Regions from separate parts of the Homo sapiens genome. Here all the other regions are linked to region 2. Evidence: promoter capture Hi-C in human tissues and cell types (Jung and others, 2019). All regions are on one chromosome and are shown on one strand. The core of a region is centred on a gene start or on the middle of the fragment in contact, and the rest is flanking DNA. Distances in the headings are between cores, read along the strand shown. Region 1 overlaps PPP3CA (protein phosphatase 3 catalytic subunit alpha). Region 2 holds the start of DNAJB14 (DnaJ heat shock protein family (Hsp40) member B14). Region 3 overlaps TSPAN5 (tetraspanin 5).

Evidence for each region. The method cuts DNA at HindIII sites, captures the fragments that hold promoters and counts their contacts. A contact is called where the count stands out against the background at its distance.
Region 1: a contact is called between a fragment that was not itself captured here and the fragment with the promoter of DNAJB14 in region 2, in 1 of the 25 tissues and cell types used here (dorsolateral prefrontal cortex).
Region 3: a fragment that was not itself captured here is called in contact with the fragment with the promoter of DNAJB14 in region 2 in 1 of the 25 tissues and cell types used here (aorta).

What each region holds. Positions count from the first base shown.
Region 1 is chr4:101,036,145-101,039,407 of GRCh38, forward strand. All of the region lies in intron 11 of PPP3CA (protein phosphatase 3 catalytic subunit alpha), which reads right to left. Among named protein-coding and RNA genes, the nearest start is that of LINC01218, 160 kb to the left of the region's middle. The HindIII fragment of the contact is 3,728 bases long and covers 31-3,263 here.
Region 2 is chr4:99,944,991-99,948,027 of GRCh38, forward strand. DNAJB14 (DnaJ heat shock protein family (Hsp40) member B14) reads right to left here and starts at 1,628. Exons shown (of 8, transcript NM_001031723.4): 1 at 1,449-1,628. The coding sequence starts at 1,581. RefSeq lists an enhancer at 1,012-1,061 and a silencer at 1,232-1,891. The HindIII fragment of the contact is 13,922 bases long and covers 1-3,037 here.
Region 3 is chr4:98,564,630-98,567,669 of GRCh38, forward strand. All of the region lies in intron 1 of TSPAN5 (tetraspanin 5), which reads right to left. Among named protein-coding and RNA genes, the nearest start is that of TSPAN5, 92 kb to the right of the region's middle. The HindIII fragment of the contact is 6,619 bases long and covers 1-3,040 here.

The DNA.
Region 1 (3,263 bases), core at 645-3,144, 1.1 Mb after region 2:
AAGTGATAAAATTTTGGAGACTTGTGTTAAACAGACTGTATTATAATAATTTCTTTAGTTTCTGTTTCTACCCCTTTTACTGTGGTGTCTAGAAAATTTAAAATGACAGATGTGGCTCACATTTTATTTCTATTGGAAAGCAATGTTCTGAAGAATTCTTTATTTTTCTCCTCTCACTTTTCACGCTATCCTTTAGCAAGACCATCAGCTTACATTGCTGTACTCTTGTCTCTGTGTTGTTTACTCTCGTCTACATTTCTTTTTCTTTCTTTCTTTTTTTTTTTTGAGATGGAGTCTTGCTCTGCTGCCCAGGCTGGAGTGCAGTGGCGCAATCTCGGCTCACTGCAAGCCCCGCCTCCGGGGTTTATGGCAGTCTCCTGCCTCAGCCTCCTGAGTAGCTGGGACTACAGGCACCTGCCACCACGCCCAGCTAATTTTTTTGTATTTTCAGTAGAGATGGGGTTTCACCATGTTAGCCAGGATGGTCTCGATCTCCTGACCTCATGATCCACCCGCCTTGGCCTCCCAAAGTGTTGGGATTACAGGCGTGAGCCACCGCACCCAGCCTTATGTCCACATTTCTAACCCTCGCCTCTCTCTGAACCTCCAGGGCAGAATTTCTAAGTGCCTCTACATAAATGCTCTGCCAAATTCAGTGCATCCTACTCTTCCCGATAAATACCTGTTAGGTATTTAAATTGAAAAGTACTTCCTCTTCTTTAGACAATGGCATCCTATCAATGGCATAGACTGGAACCCCTGTAGAATATTCTGGAATACTTCCTCTCTCTTGTAGCCTCTCATATAGGTAAGGGTTCTCACAGCCAACACCGGAAATCTATTCTGGCTAATTTTAACAGGAAAGAGATATATTAAAGGTATTAGAGAGCTCACAGATCCAGAGAACTGGGCTTCGATGCTCTGTAGCTGGGAAGGGTAACAGTACTTGTTCATACTGTGGGGTGGGCTCCATGAAAGGCTTGCCACTGATGTTCACAGCCAATGCCAGAGCTCATACTAATGCTGTGTAGTTAGCTCCCAAAATGCTGAGGTGGAAGCTCTTCCACTGCTGGCCCATGAGATTCCACACCTGACAGGACAATTGTTGTCCTGCCTTGCTGCTTCCTCATGATGCTCAATTTGAAACAAAGCCTTGCTTACATGCATTTATCTGACTGGCAAACCCTAGGCAACAGACTTGTATTTTATCTGCAAGGACTGCTGAAAGACAGTTTTCTGGTTCCCTTATAAGGTTGCACATTTCCAAAACGTAAGAAACATGTTGGGCAAGTATACCTGACAAATTTGTACCACATTCCACATTCATTAATCACGTCCTGTTTTCCCAAATTCCTTGTATTTGTCCTTTCCTTTGCACTTCTCTCCCCATAGCCTGGTCCAGCCTTTTGCTGGGATTACTTCAAAAGCTTCCTAAATGGTTTTTTTTTTTAATTTACATTTTATTTTATATTTATTCACTTTTTTCATTATCCATACGTCACCTTGCTAGCCAATCTTCACGTTGCAATTAACATGTATAGTGAAACATGGGTTAGAGCATGCCTCTAATCTCACGAAAATAATTCTACAACTCCTGATTGCCTACACACACAAAAATTAAATGTTTTAACATGCTATTCAAAACACTCAAGGATATGGACTTCAGTATATTTTCAGTCTCCTTTTAAACTAGATTCCTCACTCACCTTCATGTCTTTTGCTAGTCAGTCCTTTAATACATTTAGAATTCATTACTAGACTACTAGTATTGCTAAGAATTTATACTAGACTACATAGCACAGTTTTGAGTAAGACTCTCATTAGTGTTGCTCCCCAACTGAGGGAGTTTGGACACTCTGCTTAGCCTCTCTCAGATTCAATTTCCTCACAGCAAAGTGAAGTCACCACAACCTTGCAAGCTTCCTGTGTCGATGATTGTCAAATGTGCATAACATGGGGCATGAACCTGGCACTTAGCAAGTGCCCCATAAAAGGATGCCATTGATAGTGCTCTTAGGATTGTGTGGCTGTGCTCCTGATAATTTTTCCACTTCCAGGAATGCCTTCACCACATCTCTCCCTGCCCTGGAATCCAGCCTATCCTTCACAGCACTCCTCCAATTTTAACCTCTTTATGAACACTCCAGTCAGGAAACACAAGGTTCCTTCCTGTCTAATGCCACAGCAGGGTATCTATTCATGTAGTTATTTAGCACACACTTTTTTTTTCTTTTTTTTTTTTTGAGATGGAGTCTTGCTCTGTCACCCAGGCTGGAGTGCAGTGGCGCGATCTCGGCTTACTGCAACCTCCGCCTCCTGGGTTTGAGAGATTCTCCTGCCTCAGCCTCCTGAGTAGCTGGGATTACAGGCACGTGTCACCATGCCCGGCTAATTTTCGTATTTTTAGTAGAGACAGGGTTTCTCCATGTTGCTCAGGCTGGTCTCGAACTTCTGACCTTGTGATCTGCCTACCTCGGCCTCCCAAAGTGCTGGGATTACAGGCGTGAGCCACCACGCCCGGCCACTTTATTTTCTTTTGTTAGTTTATTGTCTATCTGGCTGGCATTCCAATTTGGTATCTAGATTGCCTAATTCAGTGCATGGTATACAGTTAATGCTCAATCATTATTTACTAAGCTTAACTTACTTTTTTCTGGATAGGATCTCTCTATATTCTGCATATGTGTTATGGATGCTTTTATTATAGAAAAACAATAATATAGAGCTTGCTTTTATTTTCTATTAACATGTGCAATTTTAAGTCAAGTCACTCATCACTGGGTTCAAATAGTCCATTTATCACGGGATAGTCATGGAAATTCTAGAGCTGTTTTTACTTTCCCTCAGAGACTTCAGACAGAATAAGAAATAAAAGCATTATTGGTAAATCTGAGGCACAATAAATAAACAAGTGTTTACTCAGAATTCCAATTAAGCTTATGACCTTCATATACGCCTTTGTCCCCACAGAACATTTTTCTAGCCATACAGGCCTCCTTGTGGTCCTCAAAACTGCCAGTTTTGTCTTTACTTAAGTATCTTTGCACTTGCTATTGTCTTTGCCTTGAACTCCCTTACCTCATTTCTTCATGAAGGTCACCTATGCTTGCCCAAATACCATTACTCAGAAAGTTTTTTGTTGACCACACACTAAAAGAAGTTCTTTATCTCCCACTTGCTCCATCTCTACATTGCCTTATTTCTTTTCTCCATGGTACATAATCAATGCTTTAAGTTTCACTATATTTACTTATGGCATGAAT
Region 2 (3,037 bases), core at 378-2,877:
TCTGAGGTAACTAAAGTAGTTAAATTCACAGAAACACAAAGTAGAATGGTAGTTGCCAGGGTCTTAGGAGACGGGGCGGTAGGGAGCTGTCTGATTAGTACACAGTTGTGTTGTAAGATGAAAAAGTTCTGAAGAGTCCTTGCACAACAATGTCAATATACTTCACTAATGGACTGCACACTTAAAAATAGTTAAGACCGTAAATTTGGCAGGTTTTTAAACCACAACTTAAAAAATTATTAACTCTTTTCTTTCATTTTATTTTCCTGTCCTCATGGGTATAGTGTTAGAAGGCAATGTAATGGAAAGGATAGAGAGAAAAGCAAAGAGCACAGGGCTTCAACGACGTAGAGAAAAAAATTTAAGAGACAACAAAACAAGTGGCCCCATATTTTCATTAATAATTTTCTACAATTAATTGAATCTATCGATAACTTTCTTCTTAACCTGGAAATACTAATGGCAAGGCAACAGTGTAGCGGTTAAAGGCCTTTTCGAGTCTGAAAGTTCAGCTACTATTCTGACTTTGCTACTAATTGTTGTGTGACCTTGGGTAAGATACTTTCATTCATTCGCTAATTCATTCATTAATTATCAGAAAGTCTGTTTCCACGTGGGTAAACCTGGTCAAATGAATCCTGCACCTCTACACAGAATTGTTCTGAGGAATAAATGAAATAATCCATGCAAAATGTTGGGCACAACTATTGGCACTTTGTGCTCAATAAATGTTGGCTATTATTACTCCGAAGCCTATCGAGTAGGAAAATAAATAAGCTGACTTCAACTAAAGGAAACCCAGTACCATATTCCTCAGAGATTTGGTTCGTCGATAATCATGGTGTTATCAAATCAGATACTCTTCAGCAATCATTACTGACTCTTGACCATTCTTGCCGAAAGTGTGCTCTTCTCTTTTAAAGGAACTCTCTCCCAGGGAAAAGCAATGTCATCTCAGGTATTCGATGTTTGCTTTGGGAACAGTTTTCTACAGATCTCAGAAACATGGAATCTGAGATTAGCCACTAGAGTACACCATTCCTCTCACTTCGATAGGGGCCTAGGCCTTATGTAGGACTGAGAATGGGGAGGGAGGGGGCCACATAAACAACACAGATACAAATAAAGCCTCACTGTGGTAAGACGGGACCAGACAAGTCTCCTCCAGGGAGAATGAAACCCGGACATTTAGGACAGCGGAACGCGGAGCCGGCGGGCAGGCGGGTGCAGAGGAACCTCGCGCAGCATTCCCCGAGCCCCAGCCCGGAGCCGGGGCTGGGGCCAGGGCGGGGGTGTGTCGGGATGCTCCCCACCGGGCCTGGGGCTGGGGCTGGCTCAGACAGGCCGGGGGCCCCGCAGGCCTCCAGGAGGGGCCGAGGTGGGGGCAGGGGCGGGCTACGCGGTGGTCTGGGGATTGGGCAGGAAGAGAAGGGACGCTGAGGTCTCACCGCGGGCCGAGGGCAGTGGGTAGAGCTTCTCGGCCTTCTGCAGGAAGCGCTGGGCCTTCTCGCGGTTGCCGGCGTTCAGGGCCTCCCGGGCGATCTCGACACATTTCTCAGCCTCATCCCTGTTCCCCTCCATAGCTTGCTCCTTCTTCCGTTTCCTCCGGCAGCGCAGCTAAGAAGGGCGGAAGCCGCCGCCGCGGAGGAGGCGAGGCGGGACCGGCTGGGGGCGTGCGGCGGCAGCGGGGAGGAGCGCAGGGGACCGCGGCAGCGGCTGCGACGGCCCGGGCGGACGGGCGGGCCTCGCAGCTCCGCCTCCTCACGGCGGCCTCCCCGCCCCCCGCGGGCCCCTAGGGCGCGATCCGCATCCGTCCCGGCCCAGGACCAACCTCCTGGGCCGGGGCGTCCGAGCTGACTCGGTGGTCCGCGCACGGCGCCAGCAGGCTCGAAGCGGACCTGCCCGGGAGGCGGACGATAGCAGCCGGGCTGCCCATCGCGGGGAGGGGTTCCGCCCGGGACCCGATTGCCGGCATTGGTAGCGCCGTGCCCTGTGACCTCCAGGCGAGGCCCTCGCAGCTCAGGCCAGGAGGACAGGGTCCGGGAAGGGGACACTCGTTTTCAGTAAAATTGCCAGGACTTGGAGGTTCCGCCTCTGGGCCCCTCAAGCGAGGGAGGATGCGGTCAGGTGAGGACCAAGGTGTCAGTCCAGTCTCAGCACTTCCGGGACACGTTAGAGCGTCGTTTGAACCTAATCTTAGGGCTTGTATGGCAGCCTTATTTCAGCTACATTTTTTCTGACCCGGATGTCTGGCTATCCAAAGTACAAAGCAGTTTAATTTGTAGCTTGCAACGAGTGGTGCAGATCGACCTTAATCCTGTGTAGCCAAAACAAGGCAGGAATCAGCCCCTCAGGGGCTGCCCTAACGAAAGCAAACTTTTGATTTCACCTTTTCCGTCCCATTTGGATAACATTACCACTTGGAAGTACCGTGTCTTGTTAGTCTTCGCGGTGGGGGTGGGGGGAATGTTTGCTATGTGCAAATTTTTTAAAAAAAAACATGACAAACTGTCAAAATGACCTGCTCAACCCAACCACAAGGTAACAATTTTTACATAATGCTGTGAGCCAAGCTGTTAATTCTGCTAACTACCATAACTCGGTACTTTCAAATAAGAAACCCTGCTTCTCTTCGATAAAATGGAGATAGTATATCCCCAATGATGTTACTGAGTACTTAACAACTTCAGACTTCAAAGCAGGGCCTGGCACGTAGCACTATTATCTTTAAAGTTTAAATTCGGAGTTCATTCTGTGGATATACAGGACATTCCTACCTATTCTCTCCCTCCCCAAGTCCACCATGCTAACAGCATACTAGTGCAGTGCTGTCACACAGCAAGCGAAGCCAATGTACAAACTGAAATGGTCACACTTAGCCTAAGAAACTGACAATCCCACTCCAGCTCCTGCCAACTTTTTAAATTAAAACTTTAGTAGCTCATATAACATTAAAAAAATATACTTGGGCTATCTCACTTTGTTGATCTACAGATTTGACAGTTCAGTCACAAAGAAATGTGCTTAGTTATTGCTG
Region 3 (3,040 bases), core at 34-2,533, 1.4 Mb before region 2:
GGAGGCATCCGATTTAACTGCTGAGGCTTGGGTCTTGACATTAAAATTGACTGTGTTTCTAAATTTTTTTTTTTTTTTCTTTTTTGAGATGGAGTCTTGCTGTCACCCAGGCTGGAGTGCAGTGGCATGATCTCGGCTCACTGCAGGCTTCGCCCCCTGGGGTTCACGTGTGTTTCTAATTTTTAAGGCCCTACTTTAATTTCTACTGTCACTAAATAAAAAAGAACAAAAGCTTTTTCTTTTAAAAACCCTAGACATCATGTTCCTGCTTCTGCTGGAAAAAGAGACAGGATATCACCATCTCAAACCAGCACCTTTCAGCAACTGAAGCCTTTTTGTCCTCACCCTGAGTGTTAAGACAATGGCTCCCTCACACGTCACAGGCCCTGGAAGTGCTACAACAGCTGAATGGGTTTTCATGGGACATAAATCACTTTCCCACTACCTGCCACCTACAAACCTACTTCTCATGAACCTTGGATCCTGCACAATATGGCTCGTCATATCCTTTGTGACTGCTATGAACAAGGGGACTATTTGCATGAGTAGATAGAGGGCATTTTTCCTTTTGACGGTTGGTGTTTTTCCCCCTTGTTCCTTGAATTTTTTTTCATTAAAATCACAGAAACATTCAATGTCCACATGTCAGTTAAATTTTCAACTTATACTTGCATGTTTCATATAACTGTTGAGCACTTTAATAAGATTCTTGAAAGCATATTTATCTGTCCATTTCCTAATATATCTCCATATTCTTATAATTTTGCATGAGAGCTTTTGAGCAAATTTTCATCCCATTTTGGGGGCCTTAAAGAACTGAGGAGAAAATATACACAGTAGACCACGCATTTACTGATTGACAATGTTTTCCCATATACAAATTTCCTAAATTCACTTATTCCTCTTGAAACTGAATTGCTGAAAAGAATAATGATTAAAGATATTCTTGTGGATGTGACACCACCTACATACATCTCATCCCATTGCTCTGTATTAAATTTGGACTGCTTAAAGTAGGAGTTATATATACTTGTTATGGGGACCAAAAAGCTGCCTGGAATTTTGTAGCCTTTATCACAAGCAGCTGAGAGGCTGTCTGAGAGTCACATAAGTAGATCACAGCTGCCAATGGTCAGTCCAGGTGCCTGTGTTCCCTCCTTTTTCAGTGGCCTAGAGTACATGCTTCACCTGCATGCCCCATTCAGACAAGAACAGATGCTGCTGCAACAAAGTGGTCCAACCACAACAAACAACACTTCTCTGTGAGCCATGTTATGCCAAAGCCTCTGCAGGCACAGATCATGAAGCAATTTAATACAAGCTTAGATAAAAAGCCAAGTGAACAATCTAGAAGCCAAAAGAAAACACAAGGGAAAGTTCCTTAGTTTTAGCGAGGAGAAGAAACAGGCAGAGTACATCTCCAGGGGAAATGAGAGGAAAGGGGAGGGGAGGCAACAGCTGTCCGCCAGGTCTATTTCAGGGAACCGGTGAAAACGTTATTTCCCTTACTCTGGCAACTGAGATTATGAGTCCTTATAATCCGTGCTTATAATTCTCAACTCTTTCTAGGGTCAGGAGGAGCAAGTGACATTGAACAGAGCCCAAGCAGAACAAGAATTATGTGTGCTGATTGTGCTAAACACAAAGTGGAGCCCCAGCATTTTTCTGAAAGTGGCTGGAAAGCAATCTCTAGCTTGGCTTGTAAAAACCTTATGGCGGGTGGGGGTGGGGAAATGAGGGATGCATCTCTCCCCTAAACAAGTCTCACAGGAAAAAATATCCATTAATGAAAAGACCTTTGCATTAGAAAAAGATGGCAGTGGGGATGTATGCTGACAACCTCGAGAATAATACCAAAGGCTAGAGCCAAAACATGTGATTCCAGTGTCAGGCCAGAGCCCAGCTGGAGCAGCCATGGGAAAAAAAGATACCATACAGAGGAGAAGCAGGGGGCCAGGGCTGAGTGAAGTGGGTGACAAATTGGTGCTAAGGCACCACAAGCGGCAGGCTTGTTTTCTCCCGCCTGATGTTGTAAGAGGCTTTTACACTGGAAGCCTGGATGCTGTGGAGGAGGGCGGGTGGCATATATGCAGCTGAGCTTTACTCTGAGACAGCAGGATGCTGTCACCACCAGCATAGCAGGGAAAACATGACGCAAGACCCATCTGGGACAGGTGGGTGCACAGCCCTTGGCAGGGGCACCGCACGCAGGACAGGAGATTCAAACCCCAACACAACACATTCCCTGGGGCCAACGAACAAGCCTCGGCCTCAAGAGGAGGAATACAAATACTGGAGCTGATTGTAGCAGAAACAGCTGTGCTGCAGCCTACACGGCCAAGTGCAGGAGACGCTGGCATGATGTCTTCAAGAGGGTGCAGGCTCCCGAGTAGTGCAGCTACAAAGCTGCCCCCCAGGGTTTAACTGGCCAATTCTTGCAAAGGGGCACTCAATAAATAATTTGAAATTTGAATAAGTCTCTCCATCCTGCCTACTCCCAGCACAAAATCCATCAACAGACTGGATCTTCTCGTAACCTGTTGGGCCTATGAGGACGCAGAAGTGCAAAATACATTCCCTGCCCTCAAAGGGTTTATTGTCATCTAGGCCCGATGGTTCCTTCCAAATTGTGGGTAGCCTCCTACAGTGGATAGTCAAAATCAATTAAATGGGTCAAAATAAACACTGTTTTTAACACACACAAAAAAAGAAGAAAATGTTCCTGTGGAACTCTTAATTAAAATGTATGTGCCCATCACAACATTAAAATATATTCCTTACTATGGGACAAATTAAAAATAATTTCAAAAATAACTGATTACTGAAGAAACCAGGCACATCTAACCATTTACAAAGAACTTTTACACAATTGGTTTTACAGAATCCAGAAATCCCAGGATCCAGCTATCATTATTATGCCTTTTTTCAGTGGTTCGGAGATGTGGCTGCCTTGTTCAAAGCAACACAGCACGGTTGGGATGTAATCGCAGATGGGTCTGCCTCCAGTATGTCCTCAAGTACCACAGGAGGTCAGAGAAGA